2 separate regions of the Homo sapiens genome follow, and region 1 is linked to region 2. Evidence: promoter capture Hi-C in human tissues and cell types (Jung and others, 2019). All regions are on one chromosome and are shown on one strand. The core of a region is centred on a gene start or on the middle of the fragment in contact, and the rest is flanking DNA. Distances in the headings are between cores, read along the strand shown.

What was found. The method cuts DNA at HindIII sites, captures the fragments that hold promoters and counts their contacts. A contact is called where the count stands out against the background at its distance.
Region 1: the fragment with the promoter of SMCO1 here is called in contact with a fragment that was not itself captured in region 2 in 1 of the 25 tissues and cell types used here (dorsolateral prefrontal cortex).

The regions. Positions count from the first base shown.
Region 1 is chr3:196,514,096-196,516,795 of GRCh38, forward strand. SMCO1 (single-pass membrane protein with coiled-coil domains 1) reads right to left here and starts at 1,251. Exons shown (of 3, transcript NM_001077657.3): 1 at 1,065-1,251. The coding sequence starts at 1,114. The HindIII fragment of the contact is 4,365 bases long and covers 1-2,700 here.
Region 2 is chr3:197,300,619-197,305,951 of GRCh38, forward strand. DLG1-AS1 (DLG1 antisense RNA 1) reads left to right here. Exons shown (of 3, transcript NR_038289.1): 3 at 1,910-3,133. Among named protein-coding and RNA genes, the nearest start is that of DLG1, 4.7 kb to the left of the region's middle. The HindIII fragment of the contact is 5,403 bases long and covers 941-5,333 here.

The sequences.
Region 1 (2,700 bases), core at 1-2,500, 790 kb before region 2:
TCCAGACACATTCTTCTAAAACACAATTCCGATTCTGTGACTCAACTGATTACAAATGGTTTATGTCATCCTGGCTTGCCCAGTGATATACTCAGAGGCAAACTGGATCTCCTCAGCAGGAAAGTCAAGGGCCTTCACCCTTTGCTCCTGTCTTCCACCAGTCCCCTCACCCATCCTAGTTACCAATTACACGAGACATCTAGTTGCTGCTTGAATACATTATGTGGTTCCAAGCTTACATATGGCTTATATGCACTGTTTCCTCAGCCTAGAATGCCTTCCCATATTTTTCTCCCTCATAAGCTCCTACTTGCACTTTAAGATCCAGCTTAAATGACCCTATATGAAGAGTTCCTTTTTCTAGTGTCAAAGGCAAAATTGGTTGATCCTCCCTTCATGTTCGCATAGACCTTTAGGAACATCACCATTGTAAGGTCAGTCACATTAAATTGTAAATGTTTTTCAAACTTTTCTCTTTCCTACAGGCTGTGAGCTCCTTGAGGGCAGAAACCACATTTTACTTATTTTTGTAAATCTAGGATTTAGCATATGCATACATTCAATGGAGTTACAGCACCTGGGAGCAGACTTTTCTTTATTGTTAATTTACATAGGTTTGGGCCTGGAAGACTTAAACCACTGTAATAGAGACGGAATTCTTTTTTTGGACGGAGTCTTGCTCTGTTGCCAGGCTGGAGTGCAGTGGCACGATCTCGGCTCACTGCAACCTCCACCTCCCGGGTTCAAGTGATTCTCCTGCCTCAGCCTCCCAAGTAGCTGGGACTACAGGCGCCCGCCACCATGCCTGGGTAATTTTTGTATTTTTAGTAGAGGCAGGGTTTCACCATGTTCGCCAGGCTGGTCTCAATCTCTTGACCCTGTGATCCGCCCACCTCGGCCTCCCAGTGTGCTGGGATTACAGGTGTGAGCCACCGCACCGGCCACAGAGACAGAATTCTAATGAGCATGTCTGCAGTTCTTTATTTCTATTCTTCATTCTTCTCTTACCCATCTTCCCAGAATAGCAGACCCATGCTTGCTCCCTCCCTATAGCCCTCAGCAACCTTTTCATTGCCTCCTTCAAGGATATCAGGGTTGTGGTTTCATTGTTCATCTTCTGAAGGCAAAAGGAAAGAAAACAAAAACAAAGCAAAACAAAAAAAGCAATAAATGTTTGAATCCAGAATTTTCTGCGGTCTTCCTCTCAGCAACAGGCAGCAGTAGCAGGAGCGCTCAGTCTACATTCTGCCTGAAAGGTCACTCAGTACAAGAAGCTTTTAATAGCCTGCAGATCCAAATATAGTTTCAAAGAACTTATCTCGTGGACACAGGTGTCCTGGAATGCACTATAACATTTGCCTTTGAAAACTGAACCATAGTACATTAACATACAGCAACAACCATGTATAATTAATGACTGTGTACATTATGGTAAATGTATATACAGATACATTAACGTAACGTATAGGATTAAGTTTGATGGAAATATTACTGTCATATTTTAACTGCTTCATTATTCAATTACAACCTAAATTAGGTTTGAAGAGTGCCCCAGATCTTTTATGATGATGATATCAAAGCAAAAAATCTAACTATCATTAGAAACTACTAAATACTTGTTATGGCTGGGTATGGTGGCTCACTCCTGTAATCCCAGCACTTGGGGAAGCCAAGGTGGGAGGATTGCTTGAGCCCAGGAATTCAAGACCAGCCTGGGCCACAGAGCGAGACTGTCTCCACAAAAAATACAAAAATTAGCCAGGAGTGGTGGTGCATGCCTGTAGTCCCAGCTACTCAAGAGGCTGAAGTGGGAGGACTGCTTGAGCCCAGGAGTTCGAAGCTGCAGTGAGCTATGATCATGCCACTGCACTCCAGCCCGGGCAAGAGGATAGGATATATATATATATATATATATATATATATATATATATATATAATTATATATAAAATTATACATATAATTATATATAATATATAATTTATATCGTATATAAAATATATATATAATTTTATATAATTATATATATATTAGATTAGGAATTGAATATAAATGTGGAAATAAAATAGGACTGCTGTTTTCATGAGATTTAAAATCTAGTTGGGAAGAAAGAATATATCCTTAAATAGAAAATGTATATGGGATGTGTGCTAAGTAGATAGAGACCATAAAAATAATAGAAGGTGAGAGACTAAGTCACTGAAATCTTGGGTCCTTGGGGAGATATTCACCCTGAAGGTGGTACTTGGCTTGGCCTTAAAGGTCAAGGTCTTTGATTATCAGAGAAGAGTGTTAAGGGTGTTACGAACTGGAGAAATTGTGTGAGCAAAATCACAGAGGTGGCAAAGTAAATGATGTGTTCAGGAAACAATGAGTAGGTATGTTTTGAGCAAAAGATTCATATAAGAAAAAGAAAATAACCACACCATTTAAACTGGTAAGAGCCATGTCACGTATTTGTTCTTTCACTGAATACTTTATTCACTTATTCAATATTTACTGAGCATCATAGATATTAATTGAATGTATAAAACCTACGAATGGATGAGCAGCACTATTCCAGGCACTGGTAATATAGTGATAAGTAAGGCGAAATCCTTGTCCTCAAGGAACATACTAGCAGGGAGACAGCACATAAGGCTTATAAGAGAGGGGATGCTTCTAGCTAGCTTGGTAAGGAGTTTGGACAGATGTGAGCTGTT
Region 2 (5,333 bases), core at 2,392-4,891:
GGGACTACGGGAGGCTCTTTCAGCATGGATCATTCACATAGCTAGTAAGTTGATGCTGGCTATTGGGCGGAGGCTTCAATTTCTCACCATGAAGACCTTTCTATAGGGCTGCTTGAGTGTCTTCATGACGTAGCGGCTGACGTCCAACAGAGCAAGTGATTCAAGATGGCGAGACAGAAGAAGCCACAATGCCTTTCATCACTTAGTCTCAAAAGTGACACTCTGTCATAGTCTGTTTGGGCTGCTATAACAAAATACCTTAGACTGGGTGATTTATAAACAACAGGAATGTATTACAGCTCTAGAGACTAAGTAGTCCAAGATCAAAACACCATCAGATGTGATCTAACAGTCATGAGAATAAAAATTAAAAAAAAAAAAATGGCCAGGCGCGGTGGCTCATGCCTGTAATATCCAGCACTTTGGGAGGCCAAGGCAGGTGGATCACGAGGTCAGGAGTTCAAGACCAGCCTGGCCAAGATTGTGAAACCCCGTCTCTACTAAAAATATAAAAATTAGCCAGGCATGGTAGCAGGCACCTGTAATCAACTATTCAGGAGGCTGAGACAGAGAATTGCTTGAATCCGGGAGGCGGAGGTTGCAGTGAGCCGAGATCGCGCCACTGCACTCCAGCCTGGGCGACAGAGCAAGACTCTGTCTTAAAAAAAAAAAAAAAAAAAAAAAAAAAAAAAAAAAAAAAAACACCAAGAGATTCAGTGTCTGGTAATAGCCCCATTCCTCATGAATGGAGCCTTCTTGCTACATCTTCCCATGGTGCAAGGGACTAACAAGCTCTATCTGGCATCTTTTATAAAGGCTCTAATCCCATTTAGAAGAGCTCCACTTTCAAGACCTAATCACCTCCCAAAAGCCTCATCTCTTAATATGATCACTTTGAAGGTGAAGATTTCAACGTATTAATTTAAGAAGGACACAAACATTCAGACCATAGCATACTCCATAATATCCGATCAGTTACTTAGATCAGCCTCAAGGATATGAATACCAGAAAGTAAGACTCACTGGAGGCCATCTTCTTGGAGCTGGCTACCACATCATCACAACATACAAAGCAATGACATCTGGATTTTTCTTTTCTTTTTTTTTTTTTTTAGACCGAGTCTTGCTCTGTTGCCAGGCTGGAGTGCAGTGGTACGATCTCGGCTCACTGCAACCTCTGCCTCCCGGGTTCAAGCTATTCTCCTGCCTCAGCCTCCTGGGTTGTTGGGACTACAGGCATGTGCCACCACGCCCAGCTAATTTTTTGTATTTTAGTAGTGACGGGGTTTCACCATGTTGGCCAGGATGGTCTCGATCTCCTGACCTCGTGATCCACCCGCCTCAGCCTCCCAAAGTGCTGGGATTACAGGTGTGAGCCACTGCACCCAGCCCTGACATCTGGATTTTTCTAAGCAACTTTTATTTCCTCAAAGTTTTCCTTACTTTGTGCAGTGAGCAGCTGCCATTGAATAGGACACAATATTGGATCTAATTTTCCAACTTCCTCATTAAATATATATATATATACACACACACTATATCTATCTATCTATCTATCATCTATCTATCTATCTATCTATCTATCTATCTATCTATCTATCTATATCTGTCCTATCTGTCTGTCTATCGATAGTTAGATAGACGAATAGAAGAAGTTACTTCAACAAAATACTAGCAGGTAAAGCTGTTCACTTTCCAGCTCCAAGTTAACTTGCCTTTTGAAGAGCTTAAAAGGCTTCGGAGTCAAAGACCATGGGGAAAGGCTCAGATTTCCCATTCTTTTATTGAAATGTCAGAGAGTCAATGTCAAAGATACTGTCTCTAAGTTCCAACCCTTCCCTTCCCAACCATCCTGCCCAAGCCACCTTTGCAGCTTCACATCTCTGTCTTTGTCTTCTCCTCCATCTAGGCCCCAGCTTATAAATCTATGAAGGTGTCCAGGTCCTGCCAGACTCCGCTGCATCTTTTGCTTTCACTCCAGCAGGGTAGCAGCATGCTGCCTGTGCCAAGGCAATCACTAAAAGGAAAGGATTTAATGCTGTCAAAAAAGCTTATGCCAGCTTAGGCTGCAGGAAGAGGAACAGTGTCAAGTATGTTGAAAGTGGACATATTGGTCAGACCTCCATGAGAGCCTAGGGGGCATTGCTTAGCAGCACGCTTTTAAAGGAATCTGAACAAACCAGCATGTGGAAAGAAGAGAGTAACCACAGCAATCAGGAAACAACTGTACAATCTAGGGCCATTTCATTGGAAAAACAGAAGTCTCCAGGGAGCTGCAGTCATCAAACAGGCTTATTCTGTGTACCCAGTGGGCAAGTACAGTCAATGGATGAAAATTCAACCAATGGACAAACACAGGAAGTTTTTCCTTAACATGAGTTGTCAGAAACTGTCCAAAATTCCAAAGAGCTGCCTCAAGGTAGTGGAAATTTTTTTTTTTTTTTAATCAGGAAGGTGCTGAATGAAGCCAGCAAGGATTCTGTGTCAGAGGGTGGTAGATACCCAGGACATAAGGTTGAACCACGTGACCTCTGAGACCACAGTTCTAAGCTGTTGAAACCTCAGTCCCTGCTGAATACTGAAATGGTATTAGCACCCTTTAGTCTACATCAAGAATTCGTTCTACCCAGTTTTGGTGGTACCAAGACTGATCTCTTTCTCATAGATAATTCTTAACAGAATAAAAGCTACAGGTTGAAACCAATTCCCTTTAAAATGTGGACAGTTGACCATCTCCATGATAGGTAGTTAGGCACTGAATTAATGCTTTTTAATGGAAGAGCCACCCTAAGATTCCTGGAGTGTGGTATAATGGAGTACTAAATCAGCATAGGACTAATAACTGCCTCCCGTGTAAACTGGTCTATCCGGAGAGTGGTATAGCCTCTCATACAGTGTTCAAAGGCAGATTTAACTCACTGCAGGTCCACAGCAACCGATAAGATAAACTCGTTGGTTATGGTCTCCCACTTTGCAAAGGAGAGCACAGAGGAAGAGGAAACTGAGATAACTTGGTTTAGGACCCCACAGCTGGCTGGAGCTGGGCTGAACATTAGTTCATTGTTTCTTCGATTAATCTATGCTGCTTTTTCTCTACTTGGCTCCTTTTCTAAATTAAACAAAACAAAACAAAAAACACTGGGCACAGAGTGGTGTATATGTGTGTGAGAGAGAGACAGAGATAGAGAAAGACTAAGCGAAAGAGAAAAGAGAGAGGCTGAGTGAGATTCAGATAAAATAAGGCACAAGTCATGGGCTAGTCTGTTGTACAGTGTACTTGTCATATATTTGAATGCCTTTAACAATGGAGACAGTTTTGATGGAAATAGGGCCTTGAAGAAATGCATATCCGCACCCTGGTGGTATGTTATAACTAAACGGGTTGGTTTTTTGTTTCGGAGTTTTTTGGGTTTCTTTTTAATGCAAAGGTATATATTTAAAATACCCTGTAGCTTCCTTCTCTCCTTCATTTCATTTCCTTAAGTATGAGAGAGGTTTTCTGGATGACGGGACATCCAAACTGGAAGTGCCCTCAGATCCCATCAACTCCCATCCCCATGTTTGAGAAGCACGTAAAGTAAGCTCCAGAAGAGCTCCCAGACAACGTCGGCACACAATTATCAGAGGACTTTTCCCTGATGGCAGAAAGCTACTGACATTTCCAGAACCATCCATCTTTCTTTTAGAGAGAAGGGGCTGGGGGTAAGGAGAAATTAGTAATCTTTTCTAGAGATACGTTTCTAAGTTTAACCAAATTTGCTTTTCTGCTTTTGAAGAACTTGTGGTATTGACAGAACCGTAGGATCCCATATGGAAATCCTCAGGATTATACTAAAATCTCCTTACATGAAACAACCTCTTCACCCCACCCCCTGCCAAGAGAATGACCATTGTCTGTTCACAGAAGGCTTTGGCCAGGGCCCTTCAGTCAGATTATCCTTATGTAGGTAGAGAAGATAAACTTGGAAACTTAATTGGAATTTGAAGAAATGCTATTAGAATTTTAGGAAGTCATTTGTATTCCATTTCTGAGATATGACCTGAATAGAATTCTGGTAAGTGGAGAAGCCAGAAGATTCTTCATAATTATATGTGGACTGTGTCCAGTGACCAATCTCATTTAGGATGGAAAACTGCCACAACCTTCCAAAACAAAGACCTGTGTGCCAGTCTTTCATTTTTGGGAAGTGACACTCACTAGGGCTGTCATTTTCCTATTCCTCATGTTGTATAACCCTAAATTCCTTTATTATTTTCTTCTATTTTACACTCACAAGAACGGTAACGATAATGAATCATTTAAATCTTGCTTTCTATTTAAATTTTCTTTAGATTAAATTAATTTCTTCCCAAGACAATTTTATCAACTGAGATTAAATATTTGTGATTAAAGCATCTTCTGCCTTTTATAAATAAATTGGGCGGCAGTTGAAGAAACTTTTCCAAATATGCTTTTTAAAAATCCTGCAAAATTTTCCCAAGTTGGATATCATTTCAACTTGCAAATTACCACATGAATAAACAAAGCCAAGCTCGAAGGGAGTAGGAGACAATGAGTCAAAAATTTAAAAGGGATGGGCCTTTACCAATTACTAATGAAGATGAACAAAGCAATTTAAGAATAAGAGAGAAGTAAATATTTAATAAGAAATGCTACCATAATAATTTGGAGAAGCTTGGGTTCAAAAGAGCAGAATAAAGCTGTATCTCTATTCTTTTTTTCTCTTGGAAAAAGACTCCAAAAATATTAGAACAAAGAGAAACTTGTTCCTCCATCCTTAATAAAAAGAAGAGTGGCTAGGCGCGGTGGCTCACACCTGTAATCCCAACACTTTGGGAGCCCAAGGCAGGTGGATTGCTTGAGGTCAGGAGTTTGAGACCAGCCTTACCAACATGGTGAAACCCATCTCTATTAAAACTACAAAAATTAGCCAGGCATGGTGGTGCCCGTCTGTAATCCCAGCTACTCAGGAGGCTGAGGCAGGAGAATCGCATGAACCCGGGAGGCGGAGGTTGCAGTCAGCTGAGATTGTGCCACTGCACTCCAGCCTGGGTGACAGAGCAAGACTCCATCTCAAAAAAAAAAAAAAAAAAAAAAAAGGAATTTAGATGCCCAGGCTCCCACATATTCAGACCGGTGACCATCTTCCCTCACTCCTCCAAAAGGCAAGAATTTGATTTATTGGAGAATAAGAGAAGTTTTAGATTTGGAACTACTAGACTCAGAGGAAGATGGTGGTGCATTATAGTACAGGAAACTAAGGGAAAATCTGTGTATTGAACAGAGATAACTCCCTCACACCCACCTCCTTCTTCCTGCTAGCCATAGCTGG